Linked DNA regions of Homo sapiens: all the other regions are linked to region 4. Evidence: promoter capture Hi-C in 16 types of primary human blood cells and fetal thymus (Javierre and others, 2016). All regions are on one chromosome and are shown on one strand. Each heading gives the region's core, a stretch centred on a gene start or on the middle of the fragment in contact. The rest is flanking DNA. Distances are from core to core; before and after follow the strand shown. Region 1 has its middle 44 kb from the start of DCTN6-DT. Region 2 overlaps RBPMS (RNA binding protein, mRNA processing factor). Region 3 overlaps RBPMS (RNA binding protein, mRNA processing factor). Region 4 holds the start of RBPMS (RNA binding protein, mRNA processing factor). Region 5 overlaps GTF2E2 (general transcription factor IIE subunit 2).

Evidence for each region. The method cuts DNA at HindIII sites, captures the fragments that hold promoters and counts their contacts. A CHiCAGO score of 5 or more calls a contact.
Region 1: a fragment that was not itself captured here is called in contact with the fragment with the promoter of RBPMS in region 4 in 3 of 17 cell types (endothelial precursors, M1 macrophages and M2 macrophages); the score reaches 7.3 in endothelial precursors.
Region 2: a contact is called between a fragment that was not itself captured here and the fragment with the promoter of RBPMS in region 4, in 1 of 17 cell types (endothelial precursors). The highest score is 11.3, in endothelial precursors.
Region 3: a contact is called between a fragment that was not itself captured here and the fragment with the promoter of RBPMS in region 4, in 1 of 17 cell types (endothelial precursors). The highest score is 9.3, in endothelial precursors.
Region 5: a fragment that was not itself captured here is called in contact with the fragment with the promoter of RBPMS in region 4 in 2 of 17 cell types (endothelial precursors and megakaryocytes); the score reaches 11.1 in endothelial precursors.

The regions. Positions count from the first base shown.
Region 1 is chr8:30,198,847-30,201,546 of GRCh38, forward strand. No RefSeq gene overlaps it. Among named protein-coding and RNA genes, the nearest start is that of DCTN6-DT, 44 kb to the left of the region's middle. The HindIII fragment of the contact is 574 bases long and covers 1,115-1,688 here.
Region 2 is chr8:30,534,896-30,537,595 of GRCh38, forward strand. The region is part of intron 5 of RBPMS (RNA binding protein, mRNA processing factor); the gene reads left to right. Among named protein-coding and RNA genes, the nearest start is that of SMIM18, 100 kb to the right of the region's middle. The HindIII fragment of the contact is 982 bases long and covers 952-1,933 here.
Region 3 is chr8:30,515,106-30,517,805 of GRCh38, forward strand. All of the region lies in intron 5 of RBPMS (RNA binding protein, mRNA processing factor), which reads left to right. Among named protein-coding and RNA genes, the nearest start is that of SMIM18, 120 kb to the right of the region's middle. The HindIII fragment of the contact is 206 bases long and covers 1,305-1,510 here.
Region 4 is chr8:30,383,100-30,385,799 of GRCh38, forward strand. RBPMS (RNA binding protein, mRNA processing factor) reads left to right here and starts at 1,442. Exons shown (of 9, transcript NM_001008710.3): 1 at 1,442-2,059. The coding sequence starts at 1,994. RBPMS-AS1 (RBPMS antisense RNA 1) reads right to left here and starts at 2,302. Exons shown (of 3, transcript NR_046205.1): 1 at 2,045-2,302; 2 at 445-598. RefSeq lists enhancers at 1,229-1,899, 1,900-2,571. The HindIII fragment of the contact is 8,815 bases long and covers 293-2,700 here.
Region 5 is chr8:30,604,991-30,607,690 of GRCh38, forward strand. GTF2E2 (general transcription factor IIE subunit 2) reads right to left here. Exons shown (of 8, transcript NM_002095.6): 6 at 2,067-2,160. Among named protein-coding and RNA genes, the nearest start is that of SMIM18, 32 kb to the right of the region's middle. The HindIII fragment of the contact is 595 bases long and covers 1,145-1,739 here.

The DNA of each region.
Region 1 (2,700 bases), core at 152-2,651, 180 kb before region 4:
TGCAAAAGCATGTTCACTGAGGCTAGTTCTCACGAATTAATGGAACAGATTTAAAATTGGTTCTGGTGGCTGTTTGTTACCATGGCTACAGAACAATCAGTCTTTCCCTAAATTTGTGAGACCCTTTTTATTCTCATCCCAACCTCTTCCATGTTTTCAGTAACCTCTTCTATGCTGTCCCTCAGGAGAGCCTCTGCTCTTTTTTTATTCATGTATTTATTCAACAAACTGTTATGGGGTTCAGAGGAGAATAACAGAGTTCCTGTCTTCAGAGTACCTACAGTCTAGAGAGGGAGCCCAGCTAAACAGTTAATTCCAATTCAGTGTGGAGGAATGCCCAGGGAACCCAGAGAGGATACTCACTTTGTCTGAGAAACAGAGGGAAGTTTCACAGGAAAGGTGTATTAGTCTGTTTTCATGCTGCTAGTAAAGACATACCCGAGACTGGGTAATTTATAATGGAAAGAGGTTTAATTGACTCACAGTTCCACATGCTGGGGAGGCCTCATAATCATGGTGGAAGAGCGAGGGGTGTCTTACATGGTGGCAGGCAAGAGAGCATGTGCAGGGGAACTCCTCATTATAAAACCATCAGATCTCGTGAGACTTATTCACTATCAGGAGAACAGCATGGGAAAGACCCACCCCCATGATTCAATTACCTCCCACCGGGTCCCTCCCTTGACATGTAGGAATTATGGGAGCTACAATTCAAGATGAGATTTGGTTGGGGACACAGTCAAACCGTATGAAGAGGAAAGCCTTGACTGGACCTTGACCTTGACTCAACCTTAGCCCTTACTCTGTGAGCACAAGTACACAGGACGATACTTGTGATGGTTAATATTGAGAGTCAACTTGATTGGATTGAAGGATGCAAAGTATTGTTCGTGGGTGCGTCTGTGAGGGTGTTGCCAAAGGAGATGGACATTTGAGTCAGTGGACCGGGAGAGGCAGACTCACCCCTACTCTGGGTAAGCACCATCTAATCAGCTGCCAGCTGAATAAAGCAGGCAGGAGAAGATGGAAGAGCAGACTTGCTGAGTCTTCTGGACTTCATCTTTCTCCCGTGCTGGCTGCTTCCTGCCCTCGAACATCAGACTCCAAGTTCTTAAGCTTTTGGACTCTTGGACTTACACCAGTGGTTTGCCAGGGGCTCTCGGGCCTTTGGCCACAGACTGAAGGCTGCACTGTCGGCTTCCCTACTTTTGAGGTTTTGGGACTCGGACTGATCCACCACTACCTTCCTTGCCCCTCAGCATGCAGACAACCTATCGTGGGACTTTACCTGGTGATTGTGTGAGTCAATTCTCCTTAATAAAATCTCTTTCATATATATATCTATCCTATTAGTTCTGTCCCTCTAGAAAGTCCTGATTAATACAAGTCAGGAAAAGGGTCTTTCAACAGAAGCAGCTTAACAATAGTTACTAATATTCTATATTAATCATAGAGATAAGAAAATAATGGTTACCTACTGTGTGCTAGGCATTTTCCTAGCTGCTTTAAATGGATTGTCTTCCTAAAAGCCCACAAAAACCTTATGATTAGATACCACTAATACCTGATTTTCCTGTGGAGAAATCCTGTCAGGGAAACAAATATAATAACTAGCCCAAGGTTTTTTGGTGAGTAGTACAGCCTGGATTCAAATACAGACAGTCTGACTTGGATACCTAGGAAGACTAAGCTTTGATTTTTTTTTTTTTAATCTTGCCCAAATTCCTGTCTAAGGGGCCTGGAGAGTCATGCCCTACAAACCACAAATTCTCATCAGATGGCTTTTATTTAACACTATCTATCATGACTTACTTTCCAACCTGACTCTGGCATAACTTCACAGGACAAGGAAGAAAATCAAAATATTTTACCCCAAAACATGTTTCTTTGCCATATCTTGATATGGCCTGGCAAAGATGTTCTTTCTGGGGGAAATTTTGCATCTGTAAAGAATCTCTGTTAACATAGCTAGATTTTTTTCTTCCAGGTCCTCTCAATCCTGAAGAGATTAATTAAAACTCCAGCACCTTTTAAACATCTAAATAGGAAACACTTGTCATCTATTGTGTCTAAGGGCAGCCACTATAAGACTTCAGAAGAACCCTGATCTCCACAATTTTTTATTCTAACCTGAATATTTCATTTCTATCGATCTCAGGTCTTTAGACAAACTCCACCAATTGTCAATCAGAAAACGTTTAAATTTACCTATAGCCTGAGAGCACCTGCTTTGAGTTGTCCCGCCTTTCTGCACTAAACTAATGTATTTCTTGAATGTATTTGATTGATGTCTCATGCCTTCCTAAAATGTATAAAACCAAACTGCTCCCCCACCACCTTGGGCACATGTTCTCAGGACCTCCTGAGGGCTGTGTCACGGGCCATGGTCACTCATATTTGGTTCAGAATAAATCCCTTCAAATATTTTACAGAGTTTGACTCTTTTCATTGACACCTATTTGGCCCTTCTTTGATAAATTACAAGTTCAGTAGAGGCCACCCAAGGATAACCCACAGAAGAAGTTCTTCAATTTCTGTATGAACTATTCGTAATCCATCTTAACAGGACATTTACAAAGTTTGGGGCACGCATCACAATTTGCATTTGGAAAGTATTTGAATAATGTTCACAAGGTAAAATTCATTGATTTTGGTGAACTAATTGTGGACAACATGTTAATAAAATTTCAACTAATTCTA
Region 2 (2,700 bases), core at 193-2,692, 150 kb after region 4:
CGCCTGTAGTCCCAGCTACTCGGGAGGCTGAGGCAGGAGAATGGCGTGAACCCGGGAAGCGGAGCTTGCAGTGAGCCGAGATTGCGCCACTGCAGTCCGCAGTCCGGCCTGGGCGACAGAGCGAGACTCCGTCTCAAAAAAAAAAAAAAAAAAAAAAAAAAAAAAAAAAAAAACTGATAACTATGACAAGTTAGTAGTTTCCACCTTTTTTCGTCAAGGACTGGAACCTTTGCAGATTTAAGAAAACTGACATTTTCTTAAAAGTCAAGGAAATGTGCTAAACTGTAAATCATTGGGTGGATTACATAATTCTGAAGTTTATATCCTCTTGCTAGTTTTAAGTTAGTTGTAGGCACTTTGTAATATCGTTAATTTTAACTAACTTTTCTTGAATATGTTCTGTGTGCCAGACATATGTGCTAAGGATAGGAGATAACAGTTTTGTGAAGGACATAGACACAGAAAAAGAAAATTTTTCGTATAAGCAGTAGGTGCAGTGTTCAGGGTACACATAGCCTGTTTTGGGAGGTGTAAGAAAGGATATCTGGTCTTTACTGGATTTTCAAGAGTGCTCCATGCCTTGATGAAGACTCTTTTAGGCAGCACCTGTCCCAACTAAGAGTCCCTGCTAAGAAATGGAAAGTTCATTAGATCAGCTTCATTAATTATCAAAGAAATCTACATTAAAATAATAGACTTTAATAACATTTCTTTAGATATAGGGTGTCACTATGTTTGCCTAGGCTGGCCTTGAACTCCTGGCTTCAGGTGATCCTCCCACCTCAGCCTCTGTAGTAGCTGGGATTACAAGCATGTGCCCTGTTCTGTTTTTAAGGATGATTCCCAGTGTTGTTACATTAAAATTTGGTACAAATGTTGCTACTTTGGGGATTATACATTCAAACAGCACAGTTAGGTGTATTGAGATCCTTAAAAATGTTCATTTCTGAAAGCTTGGCAAGGTTATCTGGAAGGCTGAGGAGAGAGGATCACATGGGCTCAGGAGTTGAAGTTGTAGTGCACATTGATGATCACACCTGTGAACAGCTGCTGCACTCCAGCCTGGGCAACATAGTGAGACCTTGTCTCTAAAATAAATCAATAAATAATGAATGAATGAATGTCTGCTATGTAACATGCGCTATGCTAGGTACTGGAGATACAGCAGTAAGCACAACAGACACAGGCCCTGCACTCAGGGACCTTATAGTTCAATAAGAGATCATCTCTCTCTTTTTTTTTTTTTTTTGAGATGGAGTTTCACTCTTGTTGCCCAGGCTGGAGTGCAATGGCACGATCTCGGCTCACCGCAACCTCCGCCTCCCAGGTTCAAGCCATTCTCCTGCCTCAGCCTCCCTAGTAGCTAGGATTATAGGCATGTGCCACCACGCCCAGCTAATTTTGTAGTTTTAGTGGAGACGGGGTTTCTCCATGTTGGCCAGGCTGGTCTCGAACTCCCGACCTCAGGTGATCCGCCCGCCTCGGCCTCCCAAAGTGCTGGGACTATAAGCGTGAGCCACCGCGCCTGGCGAGATCATCTCTTTTTATGGACTAGATAGAGATGTACCCAAGCAGCAATTTCAATTTCATTGAAAAGACACCTCTGCCTCCCCTTGCTGTCATAACCATCCTTCTCCCTTGCTCCCTTTCCTCCCTCACCAAATAACAGATGTATGCCAGAAGAGGTGTGTGAGTGACAAATGAAAGTTATACTAAAACACTGTTTTTGTTTGTTTATAAATTTTTTATTTTTAAAAAATTAATTTCCACCTGAATCATAGATTCAAGTTGCCCTGAAGATATACTTCCTGAAACACTTTTTTTATGTTAGAAGAAATTTATTTTCCTTCCTTTTCTACTCTTTCTCCTTTGTGGACCTCCTTTGTGGCGGGCACAGTAGTGAATCTAACAGAACAGTATGCTGCTCTCATGAAGCTTACCCAGGTCTCTAGCAGAGTGGGACTGAGCAGATTTTCTTATGTTGTTCATAGATGTAAAACCATTACGTTTTGAAAATACAGCTCCTGTTAAACATCCAGACTTGATTGCAGTTGTCAAAATCCAGGCTCGCAGAGAGGCTGGCAGACACTTGGAATATTCTGCTAATGCCAGGGAATAGACTTTCCTGGGGAAACTCTGGGTAACCCTCATCCCAGCAGCTGCAGGTCATAGGAAGGAGGAGGAATGAAAATGTCCCCATGTGATGAGTAAGAGTAGGTAATAGTAGTGGCTTAAGTTCCCAGAGGAACAGTTTTCTTCCCACTCATGCTCAGGGTTCCCTTCAACTCTGATTAGAAAGCAGATCCTTTTAAAATCCTGGATTGCATCGCATGATTTCTTAGCCTCGAAGAAGTGGGCAGCAAAGGAAGAAGACAACCATCAAAGCAGTGACTGGTCAGAACAGCAGAAAATCATTAAATGGAAAAGTGACTCTGGGCCAGTTGAATCATGACCAGCTTGCTTTTGGAATTTCCTTGGCATATTTATTTTGGGGTCTGCTTGCTTTTTTGCAGAAAACTTGTTGCTTCTGCAGTTTGTATCAGAGAAATAGTGGAGTGGGGAGACGGTGGAAGTTAAAGTCAGTCTGGCTGAGAACCCGCATTTGGGTAATAGAAGTAGGGATGGGAATGAGAAAGACATAGAGAATATGTCTTTACATAGAGAATATGTCTTTATCATCAGTAGGTGGAGCTAATGAAC
Region 3 (2,700 bases), core at 158-2,657, 130 kb after region 4:
GGACTACAGGTGTGTGCCTCCAGACCCAGCTAATTTTTAAACATTTTGTACAGATGGGGTCTTGCTTTGTTGCCCAGGCTGGTATCAAGCTCCTGGTGTCAAGCCATCCTCCTGCCTTAGCCTCCCAAAGTGCTGGGATAGCAGGTGTGAGCCACCACACCAGGCCAGGACAATGGATTTTAATGGAACATAATAGGAAAGCTCATTGATAAGGTTTCAGATTCCATAATCCAAGACATCTTTAATAACCACCCCTTAATAAGTGTTGGTGTAATAGCAGAGAAGAATATCCAGTTACCTGTAAAGGGTATTGAAATATTACTCCTTTGACCAGCTAGATGCATGTCTCTGTGAGACCATATTTTTTTCATATACTACAGCCAATACAATATGTTACAATAGATTTAATTTGAAGCAGGTATAAGAAACCAGTTGTCTTCTATTAAACTAGATACTAAAGAGATTTGCAAATATGTAGATCTAAAGTTTTATCTTTTTTTCTAAATATGTAGATTTCACTAAAATATTTTAAAAAACATGAATTAATAAACTTTTTTTCTTTTTTAAGAGATGGGGGTCTTACTTTGTTCTTCAGGCTAGAGTGCAGTGATGCCATCACAGCTCACTGCAGCCTCCAGCTCCTGAGCTTAAGTGATCCTCCTGCCTCAGCCTCCTGAGTAGCTGGTACTACAGGCACGCACCACCTTGCCTGTCTAATTTTCTAATTTTTTTGTAGAGATGGGGCCTCGCTTTGTTGCCCAGGCTGGTCTTGAGCTCAAGCAATCCTCCCACCTCAGCCTCCCAAAGTATTGCCATTATAGGCCTTAGGCACCGTACCTGGCCCCTTACCTTTTTTAACTTCAAAAGTTTATAACATGGTACAAAACCACACAAAAGTTCTTTTAGGCTTGATCGTTTTTACGTGTGTAAAGGTGTCCTAAAACCAAAGTTTAAAAACTTCTGGTCCTAATAATTTAAAATTAACATTTTTTGGCCAGGCACAGTGGCTCACGCCTGTAATTGCAGCACTTTGGGAGGCCGAGGAGGGCGGATTACTTGAGGTCAGTAGTTCAAGACCAGCCTGGCCAATATGGTGAAACCCAATCATTACTAAGAATACAAAAATTAGCCGGCTGTGGTGGAGGGTGGGGCACCTGTAATTCCAGCTCCTCAGGAAGCTGAGGCAGGAGAATTGCCTGAACCCAGGAGGGAGAGGTTGCAGTGAGCTGAGATCGTGCCACTGTACTCCAGCCTGGGGGACAGAGTGAGTGAAACTGTATCTCAAAAAAGAAAAAACACCTGCAAGCTTTTGTGTCAGCCTCTCCTTTAAAATGGGTCTTTTATTTCTGCTGTGTATTCTGTAGTGACTAGCCCACGAGTAACTGGTTGTATGATGAGCTGGATAACATACCAGCCGTTCATATAGTACCTCCTTGGGAGACTCTACCCAAGTATCTTTCACAAATGCCCAATTCTCTCCCACCACAATACCAGTTCCAAATGTGGTACAAGCTTATTTCAAGAAATGTGGAAATTAAACAAAAATTTTTTAATACAAAGATGTAAGGCATTTATAAAATTTTTTAAATACAAAGATTTAAGGCATTCCAAAAACATAGTTTTTATAATACGTGTATATAAAACCAGGTATAGTGGCATACGCCTGTAGTCCCAGCTACTCAGGAGGCTAAAGCAAGAGAAGGAGTTGAGCCCGGGAATCTAAGGCTATAGTGTATCTTGTCTGTGAATGGTCACTGCACTCCAGCCTGGCCAACATAGCTTGACTCCATCTCTAAATACACACACACACACACACAGACACACATGAGTTTTCCTCATGTGAATTGATTTTTTTAATAATATAACTTATTTCAATCTGTATGTTTTAAAAATTGAATGCTGAAAATTATGTTACCCACCCAGAGATAAGTATTTTAACATTTTGGATGAATAGCTATACAGATATACACATAGATATTGTATGAATGGGATTTGACATTACATCCTGCTCTGATACCTGCTTTCATTCTCAGCTCTAGACCTTATTTTTTTTGTTTATCAATAGATATATAGGCCAAGACCCCGTGTGTGTGTGTGTGTGTGTGTGTGTGTGTGTGTGTGTGTGTGTGTGTGAAATACCATGTAACCAAAGCTCTTTTCATTTTGGAAAACATTGGCAGAAATGATGGTCGCTTAGAGAGTTAAATCTCTGGGTAAGTATAATGTAATCTGTGCAAACTCAGGTCCCTTATCCTTCTTTTCATTCTGTGCTTCGTGTAGCCACTAGGACCCTAGCTATACTGAGATACAGTGGAGGAGCAGCAGTATCTCTACTTAAACAAAATAGTTTAATTAGTGGCTGAAGGTGGAGGGGTGTCTTTCTGTCTTTTAATTAAATAGCCCTCAGAAGGTCAAGGAGATCAAACTGGTCAAACATTAACAGTTCTGTGCAGGAAATTATGGTGAGTTCCTGTTCTAATTTTCTCACTTGAGTTTAGCAAACATTTGAGGGGAGGTGAGAGATTAAAAAGCTGAATAAGGTACAGTTCTGCTCTTGGAGTGTTTACACATAGTAGAGGAAACAGGCCTGTAAGGAGCTGCCGTGTGTAAGGTAGAGCAAGTGTTCAGTTGAAGTTATAGACAATGCTTGTGCAACTGATGAAGCCAATCATTATTCAGTGTATGGGAAAGACCTGGTGG
Region 4 (2,700 bases), core at 192-2,691:
AGCAAATACTGTAGTTGGAAACTGTTACCGGTGCAAGACAGGAGCAGCAGGCTGGGATGGAGAATTCCTGGGAGGAAGAAGTGGGGCAGAACCCACTGATATATGGAGTTCCACATTTATACCTTTGTAGCAGTCAAATCTAAGAGTTTAACACGGTGGCTCCACGTTGTAATCCCATCAGTTTGGGAGGCCAAAAGCAGGAGGATCACTTGAGGCCAGGAGCTCGAGCTCAGCCTGAGCAACAAAGTGAGACCCTCATTTTTCTAAAAAAAAAAAAAACCAAAAAACCATAAGCTTAAATGATCGAGTATTGGAAACGCTTTCTAAGGCCCTGGAAAAATAGAAGTTTTCTTAATAATAATGTTAGCTTCCATGTATTGTAAACCTAAACGAAGCAAGAATAAATGCTGGGTGCTGTATATAGCTCTATCAACCTATAATCACCTCGAAAACTCGAGGAGACACATTCAGCTGCTCCCATTTCACGGATGAGGAAACAAGTACGCAATCCTGAAGCTGGTGCAAAGCCCAGGCCCCCTTTCTTTTTCAAGCGTGCTTCCAGCCTCTGAAGTTCCTCCGTACGGACCCCCAGCTCTGCCTGCAATAAGGAATATTCACTTTGCCAACAAATATTTATTGAGTGCCTGCTATATACCCCTTAGCCCGTTTAAATAGCCGTGGGATTAAAAAGATAAATAGGGCAGGATTTTTTTTTTTCTTCCAGGAAGGAGCTTTCTGAAGGGTGAGGGAGAGGCCAGGTAAACAATCCCAGAACAGTCTGGTGAGAGTTGGGAGAGGAGTCGGGGGGCCGCGGGACGCTCAGGAAGCGAAGCGGGGAAGGCTCCGGGCGCGTCGCAGGACCCGCGCTGGAGATGGGTTTGAAGCCCTGTCCTGAAAAAGCCGGCCCGGAGTGGGCTGTCCCCGGTGTCCCTCGAGTTCTCATGCTGTCATTCAAGCAGCAGAGGAAGAACCGGGTCTGGCTCGGGAAGGGTGGGCTTAGGGCCAGGGGTGCAAATCCCTCGGTAAAAGCCGGCAAACTAAAAGTCGCACACATCCCAGGTCCCGGTCCAGGCCCCGGCGGGGCAGGGTCCCCGAAGTCCCGGGGCGCGCAGACGCCGGGGCCCCCGGGGGCCAAGGGAACGGCGGGACCCGACCTCCCTGCCCTCGGCCTCCCGGGCCCTCGCCCTCCGACCAGCCGCTGAGTCGGGGGCTGGGGTCGCCGCTTCCGCCCGCGGCCCGCTGCCCCTCCCCGGCGCGCGCCATCCGGCCGCCGGCCCCTCCTCCCGCGGGGGGCTCCGTCCCGCGCCCCGTCCCTCCGGGCTGCAGCCGGCAGCCCACGTCCAGGGAGGGCGGAGGGAGGAGGAGAGGCGCGGAGAGGAGGGAGGGGAGAGGGGAGGGAGGAAGGCGAGAGAAAGGGAGCTGCTTCCATCCCGGACTTCCCAGAGCCTGCCTGGAGCGCGTACTCAGCGGCTCTCGGGTCCCAGCGTCCCAGCCGCGGCCCGCGCTCCTCCGCCCCGCTCCTCCTCCTCCTCTTCCTCCTCCTCCTCCTCTCTAGGCACCCCCGTCCCCTCCTTCCAGCGGCTGCAGCCCCCAGCCCCAACTCTCCGCGCTTACTCCTGGGACGCGCGTCCTCGCCCCATCCTTTGCTTCCTTCCTTCCTTCCTTCTTCCTTCCTCCCCTGGCTCCCGCCCTCCCTCTCCAGGTCGCCCTCCCGGGGCCCGATTGTCTCGGTGCCCCGCTCCCGGCCCGCGCCCTGCCCCGTCTCTCCCTTGCACTTCCTGAGTCGCCCGCCGCCGCCGTCGCAGACTCGCCGCGGGAGCCCCAGCCCAACCCGAGCCCGACAGCCACTGCCCCGGCTCCAGCTCCAGCCCCACAGCCCGCGGCGCCCGCCCGAGGGAGCCCCGGCGCCCGGGGAAGGCTCCAGTGGGCTAGCGCGCCCTCGCCCAGCCCCGCGCCCCAGCCCTGCCCGGCCCGGCGAGGAAGGACCGGGAAGATGAACAACGGCGGCAAAGCCGAGAAGGAGAACACCCCGAGCGAGGCCAACCTTCAGGAGGAGGAGGTACTGGGCGGCTCGGTGTGGTGGCGGGGGCGACGCGGGACCCAGTGCGGGCGGCCGGCGGGGCGCGGGCCCGGGGCGCGGCGGTGGAAGAAGGTTCAGGCATGGCCCGTGCCCCGGACGCAGCCCCACAGTGTGGCCCGGGGAGGGTGGATCTCGGGAGCGTGTGTTTTTGTGTCCACGCGCGTCTGCGGGCCCCAAATTGCGTAACTCCAAGGACTTTTCGGAGACTTTTGTAAGTATAATGCTCAGCTTTGTTTGCCCGGGATTTATAAGTGGAACCGAGAGCTGACTCCTGGGTGACCTCAGATAATCGGGACTCGGAGGGTCAGGACTTAGGGCCGGGGCTGGAAATTGTGTATGGATTCAGGGTCGGGGGGGGAGCAGTTTAAGGAAGAAACTCGGGGGAAAGTTCTCGTTAAAAGATACCTCTATTCCCTGCCCCCTCCCTTTCCGTGTTAAAAGTTCTTGGTGAAATATCTTTCTAGCCGAGGTTTTTTGGATTAATAGATAACTCATCAGCCACATTCTTCTCTGCTGAGTCAAAGACCCCGAGCCTGGGCGGTGAACGCTTGTGATTTTAGGGGCCGTGCAGCTGAGGGGAGCAGAGTAAGAGGGTTAAAAACGCAGCAATTCACCAAATG
Region 5 (2,700 bases), core at 192-2,691, 220 kb after region 4:
AGATTACAAGAACATCTGGGCTTCCCACTGCTAAACACACAGTGTACTCCTAAAATAACCCCAAAGAAATGCTATTAAGAAATTCTAGAGCTTCATGTACACTCTTACAGAGCTACTGCAATCTCTTTCCTATCAACCACCCGCCTCAAGTTAAACATCTGCTTACACAACAGACATGCTACACTATGCTGCCATCTGCAGAGCAGACTTAACACTAAAATTCCCACTGAGAACATTTAAATATGTTTGTTGAAGGCATCAAAGTAAATGACGGAGAAACTAAAACTTAACTAGAGATACAACTATATTGGGAGGAGAGAGATAGGTATAGGAAAGAGAAATGACAGTAAGTCACACAATGTTTAAAGTTGAAAAAAAATCAAGAAACAATAGCATAAGCATATTATTAGCAATTGGGAAAAAACTGAAGAATCCAAAATAAAACTAGTTAAGCAGCTGCCACAAAAGAAAGGGACTGCAGCTAGAGAAGGGAAAGGCACATCTGCCTTTTAGTATAGGCTCTTACTCTCTATCTGAACTTGTAATACTTGTGATAGGTTTTTTTAAGTACTGCAAATATTTTTCAAAATGATTGTTATTATACCTAAGAATAAAGGAATCGGTTATTTCTTAGATTTTTTTTTTTTTGAGCTCAGAAATATCTTAAATGGTTTTTAACTTTCTTTTTTAAAGGCAGAGTCTCACTCTGTCACCCAGGCTGGAGTGCGGTGGCACAATCAGCTCACCGTAACCTCTAACTCCTGAGTTCAAGCTATACTCTTGTCTCAGCCTTGTGAGTAGCTGAGACCACAGGCATGCGCCACCAAGCCTGGCTAATTTTTCAGTTTTTAATAGAGATAGGGTCTCACTTTTTTGCCCAGGCTGGTCTTGAACTCCTAGCCTGAAGCGATCCTCCCACCTTGGCCTCTGAAAGTGCTAGGATTAGAGGCATGAGCCACCATGCCCAGCCTTAAATGTTTTCAAAAGCAAGAAATATAAAAATTAGCATAAAGGCAACATTGCAAGTAACGAAGACTGAAAGCAATATAAAAATCGCCAGGCAGTACTGAAGTCTTTGTTCAACAGGCACCTATCACTACAATGGATAGCATAAGTTCACTACATACTTGCTTTGTTATATAAAAGCTTATTAGAAACAACAACATCAAAGAACTGGAATATTCTGCACATTTTTATTTAATTAACATTTATTGTGAACCAATTACATGTAAGATACTCAATTGGGATTTTCACAAAAATACAATTTCCTAAAACAAGTTCAGGGAAACTAAAGCCCTATCTACCAGAACCACAAGCCTGGATATCTATAGACAGATAACAAAAGGAAAACTTAAGGTTACTGCACAAATCACAAAATCAATTAAATTGATGTCCAATTATTTTCCTGCCATTTTATAAAACTTCAAAAGTAATACAAATTTACAGTAAAATACCACCAACACTTGCTAAAATGGCAATTGGTAAACTTGAATAATACATTTTTCATCACTAAACCCTTGTTTAATGACAAATTATTGACAAAAATTTAAAACTAAAGTCCAAACATACGTATCATATACTTAGTAAGAGATTCAATATACAGCTTAGCATCCAACTCCACAATTTCCAGAAAGAAAAACATCATCTCCTTCCTTATTCAATTTGATAACTGAAAGATTCATAAGATAAGAGAACACTATTCACCAATAAAAGTTTATTCTTTTTCCCATCCTGTATCAAGCTTTTGTATCAGGATATGAACTTACATTTGTAAAAGTCTAAAGATAAAGAAATAAACCCGTTTGGTTCAGTTGAGCTATAAACATTAAGAAATCCTGAACTGCGATTGTAAGTATAATTAACCTAAAATCTTTCAAATCACATATTTCAAATTGCATTCTAAGCAACAATATGTTAGACACAGGGGCCACTGGCTGTGTTCTAAGAAATGATAATGCTAAAAAAGCAATATAAGATTTAAATTATAATTGTATTATAAATATTAATTTTACCACCCTAAAATTGTAATATACTTGCAAACTAAAGTATAATACAGAAAAGCTCACCTTCATCCACAGAAAACTGACAGCTCTTATCATTGAAGAAAAGTATTTTCTTCTTATCGGGACGATTTACAAATAGTATCTGGTCCCCCAAAGCCTTAAAGATAGATAAAATAAAGATTTTTCAGTTAACTCCAAATTACCTCACCAAAAAAAAAAAAAATTTAAACAATAAAGGAGTTTCATTTCCTTAACACACTCAGTATACCACCATAGGGTCCTCCACCATAGGTCCACTGGACCCAATTTTAGTTTTAGTTTTGTTTTTAAGAGACTCCACCCAGACTGGAGTGCAGCTCACTGCAGCCTCAACCTCCCAGGCTCAAGCAATCCTCCCACCTCAGCCTCTGGAGTAACTGGGACCACTGGTGCATTGCCACCACGTCTAGCTAATGTTTTCAATTTTTTGTAGACAAAGGGTCTCACTATGTTGCCAGGGCTGGTCTTGAACTCCTGGGCTCAAGCGATCTTCCCACCTCAGCATCAGAAAGTACAGGGACTATAGGTGTGAGCCACTGCACTCAGCCCCAATTTTAGTTTTTGAGTTTCTTTCTTGAGTAGTTCAATTTTTTAAAAATTGATATTTCCAGACTTGTATTCTTAGAGGTCTTCCAAAGAACAAAAATAAAACGTGTTT